Regions from separate parts of the Homo sapiens genome. Here all the other regions are linked to region 1. The links are contacts of gene promoters, found by promoter capture Hi-C in blood cells and fetal thymus (Javierre and others, 2016). All regions are on one chromosome and are shown on one strand. Each heading gives the region's core, a stretch centred on a gene start or on the middle of the fragment in contact. The rest is flanking DNA. Distances are from core to core; before and after follow the strand shown.

Evidence for each region. Contacts are between HindIII fragments. The CHiCAGO score rates a contact against its expected background, and 5 or more counts as called.
Region 2: a fragment that was not itself captured here is called in contact with the fragment with the promoter of RFESD in region 1 in 13 of 17 cell types (activated CD4 T cells, non-activated CD4 T cells, total CD8 T cells and 10 more); the score reaches 10.1 in activated CD4 T cells.
Region 3: a contact is called between a fragment that was not itself captured here and the fragment with the promoter of RFESD in region 1, in 1 of 17 cell types (megakaryocytes). The highest score is 5.0, in megakaryocytes.

The regions. Positions count from the first base shown.
Region 1 is chr5:95,645,411-95,648,361 of GRCh38, reverse strand. RFESD (Rieske Fe-S domain containing) reads right to left here and starts at 1,585. Exons shown (of 6, transcript NM_001131066.2): 1 at 1,545-1,585. The HindIII fragment of the contact is 4,150 bases long and covers 1,276-2,951 here.
Region 2 is chr5:95,837,769-95,840,719 of GRCh38, reverse strand. The region is part of intron 1 of LOC124901029 (a long non-coding RNA gene); the gene reads left to right. It overlaps LOC102724720 (a long non-coding RNA gene), which reads right to left. Exons shown (of 3, transcript NR_157807.1): 2 at 2,277-2,400. Among named protein-coding and RNA genes, the nearest start is that of LINC01554, 13 kb to the left of the region's middle. The HindIII fragment of the contact is 157 bases long and covers 1,340-1,496 here.
Region 3 is chr5:95,779,116-95,782,066 of GRCh38, reverse strand. It overlaps RHOBTB3 (Rho related BTB domain containing 3), which reads right to left. Exons shown (of 12, transcript NM_014899.4): 9 at 1,642-1,815. Among named protein-coding and RNA genes, the nearest start is that of GLRX, 42 kb to the left of the region's middle. RefSeq lists an enhancer at 773-822. The HindIII fragment of the contact is 2,298 bases long and covers 248-2,545 here.

The DNA.
Region 1 (2,951 bases), core at 336-2,835:
AACAACTCATACAGTTTGACGGCTAGTTGAAAACATCCCCCTGAAAAACTTAGTCGTTGTGTTTCATGTTCTCTTCGAGAAAAATTTTTGGCCTGTCCCTAAAATTGGTTTCTAAAGGTGCTAACTCCATATAAAATTACAAATTAGCTAAATGGATACTCGGTCACTATTAGATTCCTTTCCAACAAAGGAAATAAATTCAAGTGGAATTTAAAAAAATATTTAGTGTAACTCAAATTTCCACAAGACACGGGAGATAAAAGAAACATGAAGTGAAACGTACTTACTTGTCACTCGTCTTGAACCATGACTAAGATGCTTTTACCAAGTGTGGAAACTTTGCCTACACATTATCAGAATGCTTATCTCAAGTATGACACCCTTGCTTTTACATGCAGGGAAGAGAAATGCCTTAGAGAGTAGTTTTGGTATCTCTCTGAATGGCAGAATAATAACAGATAAAACTAGCTGTCCTTTAGTAAATGCCTACTGCTTGGACCCTTTGAATATAATAGTTCATTAGTCTTCACAAAACCGCCAACGGGTAGGCATTAGTTTTATTCAGGTAGCACCCACGTTTTTATAAAAACATGAGGCTTGCAAGTAAACTATCCTGAAGACACAGAAACCTTTTAGCAAAGCAAATATGTATATTGGTGATATATATAGTATTGATATTTATATTTGTCACCAAAGATGGTCCTGAATTAAAAAAAAAAAGGAACGCTAATGTGCAACAGCTATGTTCACGAATGTTTACAATTGAACGCTTGCCCAATAATTTTATATAAAGTCACAGAGCTGCTCTGGAAATCAGCACCATCGTATGATGTTGAATTGTGATCACGAGTGAGCTAGACCTGGGTTTGCATCCCAGTTCTGCGTGATTTGGGGCAAGTTGCTTAACTTCGCTGTGCTGCAGTTTCTTTTACTTTAAGAAGGGCCCGCCACATAGGGGTGTGGGTAAAGCACATAAATGCTTTAACACATGTCAAATGTTTAGAGCAGGCCTAACCGCAGAAAACGCTCACAGCGCGTTAGCTGGCACCTCTAAGGTCCATCCAGCTCTGGCAGTTATCCTGCCTAACTTCAAGTTGTGTTTAACATTTCGGTAAAGACCGCCTGCAGTTCTGAGACTGCACGTGGCTGTCCAGGTGCTGCAAATTCTCGACACAGACTCCAGGAGGCGAGTATCTCCAGGACGGCCGGGGCTGCGGAAGCCCTGGAGCAGCTTCTATACTTTAGAGCTTTCATGGCACAAATGCCATGAAAGCTTGTTAAAAACGACCCGCGTACCCCCCTTAGGTGGCAGGTCTCAGGTGTGGCCCAAGTTTCAAGGTGAACAAGCTCGGTGAGTCTCCTGTGCCTGGGCGGAAGCCCGCCTTGGCGGGTTAACCGTTAACTAACGCTGAACCAAAACCCAAGAGGGCCTCAGGCCCCGCAGCGGCGCGGCCACAGCCGGAATGAGGAGTCCACGCCCGCAGCCCAGCCGGAAGCAGCTGGTCCCGCCAGCCCGCCCCCTGCGCGGCGAGAACAGAACTTACTGTCCCCGAGTCCTCGCTCCGCCTCCGCGTGACGCTACTGCACGAGCCAGAGCTCCAGACGTGCGCGGCGCCTCGACGGGGGCGGGGCGAGGCCGTCCACGTGACCCAAGAAGGCCCGCCCCCGGGACCGCCTCTATGGCATTGCCGGCAGATGACCCTGGTTGATAGAGATCTCTGGCCAACAGCGCCGCGCCAGCACCTTCAAACTGGCAGGCATACTCGTGTACTTGACAAATGTGGATAGCATCAGTTTACTTTTTAGTTGTTTGTTGATCTCATTACATTTATTCAAATTTTAGATGCGCCCAGCGACTTCATTCAGTTATTTACCCTATAAAAATATTTGCAGAAGGTCGTCGCGATGCTGGTAACCCATGTATAAGGATGTTAAGGCCGGGCGCGGTGGTTCACGCCTGTAATCCCAGTACTTTGGGAGGCCGAGGCGGGCGAATCACCTGAGGTCGGGAGTTTGAGACCAGCCTGACCAACATGGAGAAACCCCATCTCTACTAAAAATACAAAATTAGCCGGGCGTGGTGGCCCAGGCCTGTAATCGCAGGTACTCAGGAGGCTGAGGCAGGAGAATCGCTTTGAATCCAGGAGGCAGAGGTTGCGGTGAGCCGAGATCGCGCCGTTGCACTCCAGCCTGGACAACACGAGCGAAACTCCATCTCAAAAAAAAAAAAAATGTTTATTGCTGTGAAGTAGTGAAAATAGCTGAAGTGATAACACGGAGGAATGGTTCAATAAAACACAGCACAACAGTACAGACATGTGAATTACTTCGTAGCTGTGTACTGTATACTCAAAGGACAGGCCCATCATGTAATGAATATTAAAGGCAAAGCGTAGAATACTATATATGGTGTCCTCTCTTTAATGTAAACAATTATTTTTTGAAATACAAACATGCAGGTATGTACATAAACTTTTTCTCGAAAAATCAAAAGAAACAATAGTGGTTGCTTTGGGAGGAGATGGAGAGTTTTCACTTTCATATTATGAACTTTGCAATTTTGCTTTTTTCTCATTGTACTTCCCTGAATTGACAACAACAACAACAAAGAAAACCACCAAAACCCTCATATTTGTGTTCCGAGCTGGGAAACTAGATGAGCCTAAGTTTTTAATTTCCTTGACTACTTTCCAGTGCAGTGATTCTTAACCCTGGCTATGCCTTAGAGTCGCTTGGGAGTTTTGAAAAGTCGTAATGCCCAGTCTGTATGCCAGACCAACAAAATAAAACACAGATTATTTGGGGTGGGAAGGGAGTGGGCAGATTCAATGTATGTTTTTAACTTCCTGAGTGATTCCAGTGTGAACCCAAGGTTGAACACTACAACTTGTATTTAGTATGGTGACATAGTGATCTCAGGCTCTAGGGTGGCCCAATGAACTGGGGCAGCC
Region 2 (2,951 bases), core at 169-2,668, 190 kb before region 1:
CGGGCGCGGTAGCTCATGCCTGTAATCCCAGCACTTTGGGAGGCTGAGGTGGGCGGATCATGAGGTCAAGGGATGGAGACCACCCTGGGCAACGTGGTGAAACCCCGTCTCTACCCAAAATACAAAAATTAGCTGGGCGTGGTGGCGGGTGCCTGTAGTCCCAGCTACTCAGGAGGCTGAGGCAAGACAATCACTTGAACTCAGGAGGCGGAGATTGCAGTGAGCCCAGATCACACCAGCCTGGCGACAGAGTGAGACTCTGTCTCAAAAAAAAAAAAAAAAAAAAAAAACACAATTGCCACATTTCTTAATTTCTCTAAAGAAAATTAAATCTGGCCCAGACCCCAATCACCTTGTGCTTATCCCTCCCTTGGGAAGATCAAAGAAGTCTAGAGTCCTAGAGTTTCCACCATTCAGGAACATTGGGCAGGGGCCTTTAGTGCAGCATGGTAGCCAGTGAGCTGCTTATTGTCCAGGTCCCCAGGACGATGCCCCCATCTGCAGGCTCCTCTGGTGGCCCCCACCATCTCCAGGTCAGACGAGGTCTTTGGCCCTTTCACTTGGCTCCCAGTTCCTGAGACTCCGGGTCTCATCCCTAGGTGTCCATGGCCTCAGTTCACTCAGTTCACCTGAGATGTACATCTCAACTTGGGTGCTGGATGGTGAGTGGCATGCAAGTCCCCACCACTCAAGACTGGCCACTCTCTCTCTACCATCAGAGCCAGGCCACTCCCTTCTTCTCAAAGCCTAGTTGCTGTCTCCTACCTTTCTCCAGCTTACATTTCAAAACAATATCTCCATTCTAAAAAGCAAAAGAGCTTAGTGTTTGTCCATTCCACACCCAGGACAAGGGAATCAAGAACTCAGAACACAAAGGCCTGTCTGTTCATGCTGTAAGGGGGAAGAGGAAGTTACCTGCACAGCAAAGCAACTCCACTCAGGATTAACCCACCACTCTGCTACACCCTCCTCTCAGTAAATCTTTGTGCTTCACGTGGCAGAAAATACTTTCCATAAATAAATGGGGATACACCCAAAGGGAGGTGAGGGCCGTTGTTAGCCAGGGTCCTTGAGACTCAGTTTCCTGGATTGAACGTCACGGGGAGTAAATTTCATAGTGAAACAGCACCTCACAGAGTAGGTAAACTTCCCAAGACTTGGCAGAGAAGCCTGTGTGCCAAGTGAATTTTCTGCCTTCCGGCAAAGACGGAAAAGACACCTTTGAGTGGGTTTTCCACTGAGGAAGAAAGGTCTCTAGAAGGAGCATAAGTCCAAGAGGACCCCTGGGGTTCCAATTTAGTTGTTCCGGGTTGGGGCCCAGACAGGTATTTTTAAAGCTTCCCAGGAGACTCTCCTGTGCAGACAGGTTGAAAGCTGGTTATGTAAAGGCCTAAGGCGTTGTGTTTCCTCTGTTCCAGGGGTTGGTTTCCCAACCCCAGTCTCCATTTCCCCATCGCCCAGCCTCACATCAACACCTGCTGTGTGTTCTCCAAGCTTCTATGCTCCCCACAGTCTCCAGGCCAACACGTTTGGATGCCAAAATCCCCTGATCATGTTTAGGGCCCCTTCTCCTCCTGGGTCCCCCTTGTAGTATCCCAGATGCTGAAGTGGAGGCCTCGGAACCCTCACTTAGGCATTAGAGGGAGCATGGCTGGCACTAGCCTAAACAGCTGAGACCCTTTCGCCTTGGTAGCCAGACAGGATGCAGAGGGCAGCCACAGAGTACCACAGCAGGCTTTGGGGACGCTGGAGAGTGGTGGCCCAGGGTTACCACAGCTGTGCCTTATGTCCCCATCTCCTCAGCTGGCAGGGCCTGGACTCCCTCTTCCATGCTGTCCTCCCCTCATTGTGGAGATGGACCTATTCTCACTTCTCTTCTGTTCCTTCACCAGCTTCACTTGCTGTGAGGTCAAAGATTTCATTCCTGCTACTGAGACACGTGACTGATTACTCTTGGAGCAGTGAAGTCCTGGGAAGGACATGGGGATCAGTCAGGCTGGTTTAGATTAGCCTATGTGACTCCAGGTTGCCCTGTTGGTTCTATTGTAATGGACAGGCCTGGTCCCATGGTTGGCTCCAAACCTCCCCAGTCAGCATCCTCTGTGTCAGTGTTTCCAACCCTCATTGTAAAAAGCTACCTTTCCCAGATTTTTGATAGGGGATTCAGAAGACTGACTTGTTGCCACCGCCCCGCCCCACACCACCCCTTCCTCAGCTTGCCCTGTGCCTGAGTGTTTTCAGGAATCCAGTTAGAGCCAGGCAAGCAGGGCTCTTACCTTGAGCGGAAGGACCTCGGAGGCTGCGTCGTGAAGACTTTCCATCAGGGGCTGTTGTTTTGCCCTTTGAGACCAGCCGCTCTGGCAGCATCTTAGTGGGAGCCAAGAGTCAGATGTTCCTTCCCTGTGGGATGATGGTGTCATTGTCAGAAAGCGCCCTCCATTTCTGATCATCTGCTGCTTCTGTCACAAGCAGACTGGCTCTCCCCAGTGCCAACGCCTATTCCTGCATGTCAGCTATGGCACAGGGCCTGGGGACTGTCTCACGCTCCAGCACTTAGGCATCACCAGCCACACAAAGACAGCCTGTTTTCTTCCTTCCTCCCCACTGCCATGTCACTGCTGAAGGGCAAAGACCTTTTGAGATGGACTTTCAAGCTCAGTCTCTTCACAGTTCTCTGGTATTCCTCAAATCTGCAGAAGTAAGATACTTGGGTCTGCCATGACTACCAAATTCTCTGTCCCCTCTTTCCCAGTGTAGTCATGATTAGTAGACCTGGATGTGTCATTTCATGTTTGTGTTAACTCCTGTCTGGTTCTCCAGTTTCCTATGAAGGCCTCAAAGAGTTGATTACACACTTTTCATTTTTGGTGCTTACTGTTTCTCTTTATTTTCTTACATAAGTCATATAGGAATATATCCTGATTGTATAAGTTTCAAATAATATAGAAGTT
Region 3 (2,951 bases), core at 147-2,646, 130 kb before region 1:
TATTTTCTAATTAGCAAGGTAAAACTTAATATTAGCAGCTTCAATTACTTGAGTGAGAGGATGACTGAAAATCAAATTTTCCTATTACTCCAAATCTGGTCAATTTGTAAATTTAATATACAGATTTGCCAACAATGAAATAATAAACAATAAGCTTTATTTCCAAAAAGAACAAATGCTTTCATTTTTATTAGGCAAAAATACTAAGTCTTTTTTTGAGACGGAGTCTCACTCGGTCACCCAAGCTTGAGTGTGGTGGCGCCATCTTGGCTCACTGCAACCTCTGCCTCACAGGTTCAAGCGATTCTCCTGCCTCTGCCTCCCGTGTAGCTGGGATTACAGGCACACGTCACCATGCCCAGCTAATTTTTGTATTTTTAGTAGAGACGGGGTTTCACCATGTTGGTCAGGCTGTTTTTGAACTGACTTCAGGTGATCTGCTCACCTCAGCCTTCCAAAGTGCTCAGATTACAGGCATGAGCTACGGCACCTGGCCGTAAGTCAGTCTTTAACACTGACAGAAACAACTGCAACTGGCTCCAAAATACTCTACAGAAAGCTGCAAGCCCAGAATTAATTTAATCAACACAAATACATTTGCTTCTTTTTGAACTTCTAAAATCTTTCACTAGAGGGCTCATGACTTGTTTAAAACTTATTTCAATACCCAGTGTAAGAAACCTTTCCATTCTAAAAATTAAAGCAGTGAATCTGAAGAGAGGTCTGGCTTGAAATGTGTGTTTGCTTTTTATGTTTATTAGGGTGCCTGACCAGGTTCTCTAATCAAGGTCTCAGGCTCCTGAACTGAGCTCCACGGGGCCGAATCTAGTTGTGCTTGTGGTGGGAGCCATCTGGTGGCCAAAGGCTGAAGACTACTCACAGAGGGCTTCCCTGCCAGCATCCCAAGCAAGGCTCCAGGCCTGTAGAAAAAATTTTGCTATTTCTTCAAGTGCCTCCAGCTAGAAGAACCCTGCTGGATCTGTTCCAACCTAGAGCTGTCACAGATGTTTGGTTCCTGGTCAAAGATAGTCCTTGGTCAGTGAATTTGGAAATGAATCCTACAGTCCACTGGGTATTCTAAACATCTCAAGAAAAGTTTTCAGAGAAGTCAGTTTGAGGAGTTTCTGACTTTAGCAGAAGTCAGAAGGAGGCCTTTACAAATCCCACATCCTCTGGGCAGAAGGAAGACCAAAAAAGTCTCAGAATATTGAAAGTCCTTAAAAGTGCCCCAATCAGAAGTCACAGACATCAAAGCAGTTGCGCAACCCTCCTCTTCTTGTGGAAGAGACAGCGCTCCAAGTAACAATCTGCCCCGATCTCTAGAATTACGGTAGCCATGGGTACCACAAGACACCTCCATTTCTAGTTGCCTACAGTGATCCCCATGCTGTAGGTGCTGGCTGGGACATGTGAACTTGTGCCGGCGTCGGAGACCCATAAAAGGCACCCAATCACTGCACTTCCACTTGAACTGAATGAAAATTCATTGTTGTTCCAGCACCACCTCTAATTGCTTAGTACATTCCGTGATGTCAACTAATAAATCTTAAATGAAAATAGATTCCACAGAGTGCAATTTAACAAAATGGGTGGCAAGGAAAGAAAGAATTCTGAGATACTATCAACATTTGTATTGCTAACCTGGGCAGCAGGAGTCTGTGTACAGGTATTCTAAAAATGACAAGAAAGTCTCTTTGGAAACACCATAAACGGGAATCAGGACACTCTTTGCTTCCATGTAATTACCATTAAACATGGCTGCCATCACTTCACAACGGGCCACCAGGATGGCCCTGTGGGCTGGCACTGTCGTACCTGAAAGGTTCAAAAGGGAAACAAGAAACAAGTGAGATAAACCTGCAGGGTTATTCCAGCAATTTTCCTTCTAATTAGACTACCACATTAGGGACAGCTAGGCTGATATGCAGAATCTGAATTTGGGAGTGATAACTACCATTAATCCAGAAACTTCTTAATTTTAAAGGGAGCAATAAAGAAAGTTCAGATGTTGACCTTGAAACCAACAATTTGCAAGTCAAGACAACAATTTGTTACTTAGTTTGTATTTCCAGAAATAGAAACACTGAAATGAAGTATTTTGCTTCATATTTTTATAATGAAACATCAATCCTTTCCAATTGGCTTGAAATATTAATAATACTACCCGTGCCCATGTGCCTCCCAAGAAAACAACCCCATTACCCTTCTGGGCCTGACTCACAGAACCATCTTGGCCATGCTTCCCCTTATCTGAAACAGGAAACTGTAAGAAGTAAACCATAAGCTGTCCGTACACCACAGTAGGAATAGCAAGAGGATCTCTTGTGGAGCCAAGGAGAGCATTTCAGACTTAATGAAAATCTGGAAGAGGATGACCTTAATCCCTGCAGTCTCCCCAGCACACTACTTCCTCAGGCAACCATTCTGTCTCACCTGAACAATGCCTGCTGCTGGGAGAGCCAGTGCTACGTTGAATTTTGAGGGCTCTCTCAGCCCATACTGCTCACTGAACTCACCGAACTGAATTAACTCTCTAGGAAAAGCTTGCTAGGCTCTCTAGCTACTGCTGCACCACACAAAGGCAGCGCTGGATAGGGCCGTGAGTGGCCAGGGCTCTCTACTTCCACCACCTTAGAAAACCACGAATACACACTGCCAGCCTTCAGTTCAGCCTGGATCACTTCAACAGATTATTACCGAGAATCAGCATGTGCCAATCATTGCATTTGGAATTGAAGACACAAAGAGGAGGAAGACAAAGCTACCTCTGCTTTGGAGCAGTTTTTACTTTCGTAGAAGACACCACAGCCAGTGTGAGTGACAAAGCTGTCGCATTCCAGGAAGTAACTCTCCAACCAAACCAAGCCACTCAGCCCTGCCCAAGAGTTTACCCACACATCTCTAAAATCTCATACTCATCAGGGATATATAGTCTTCTCTAAAGCATTTAC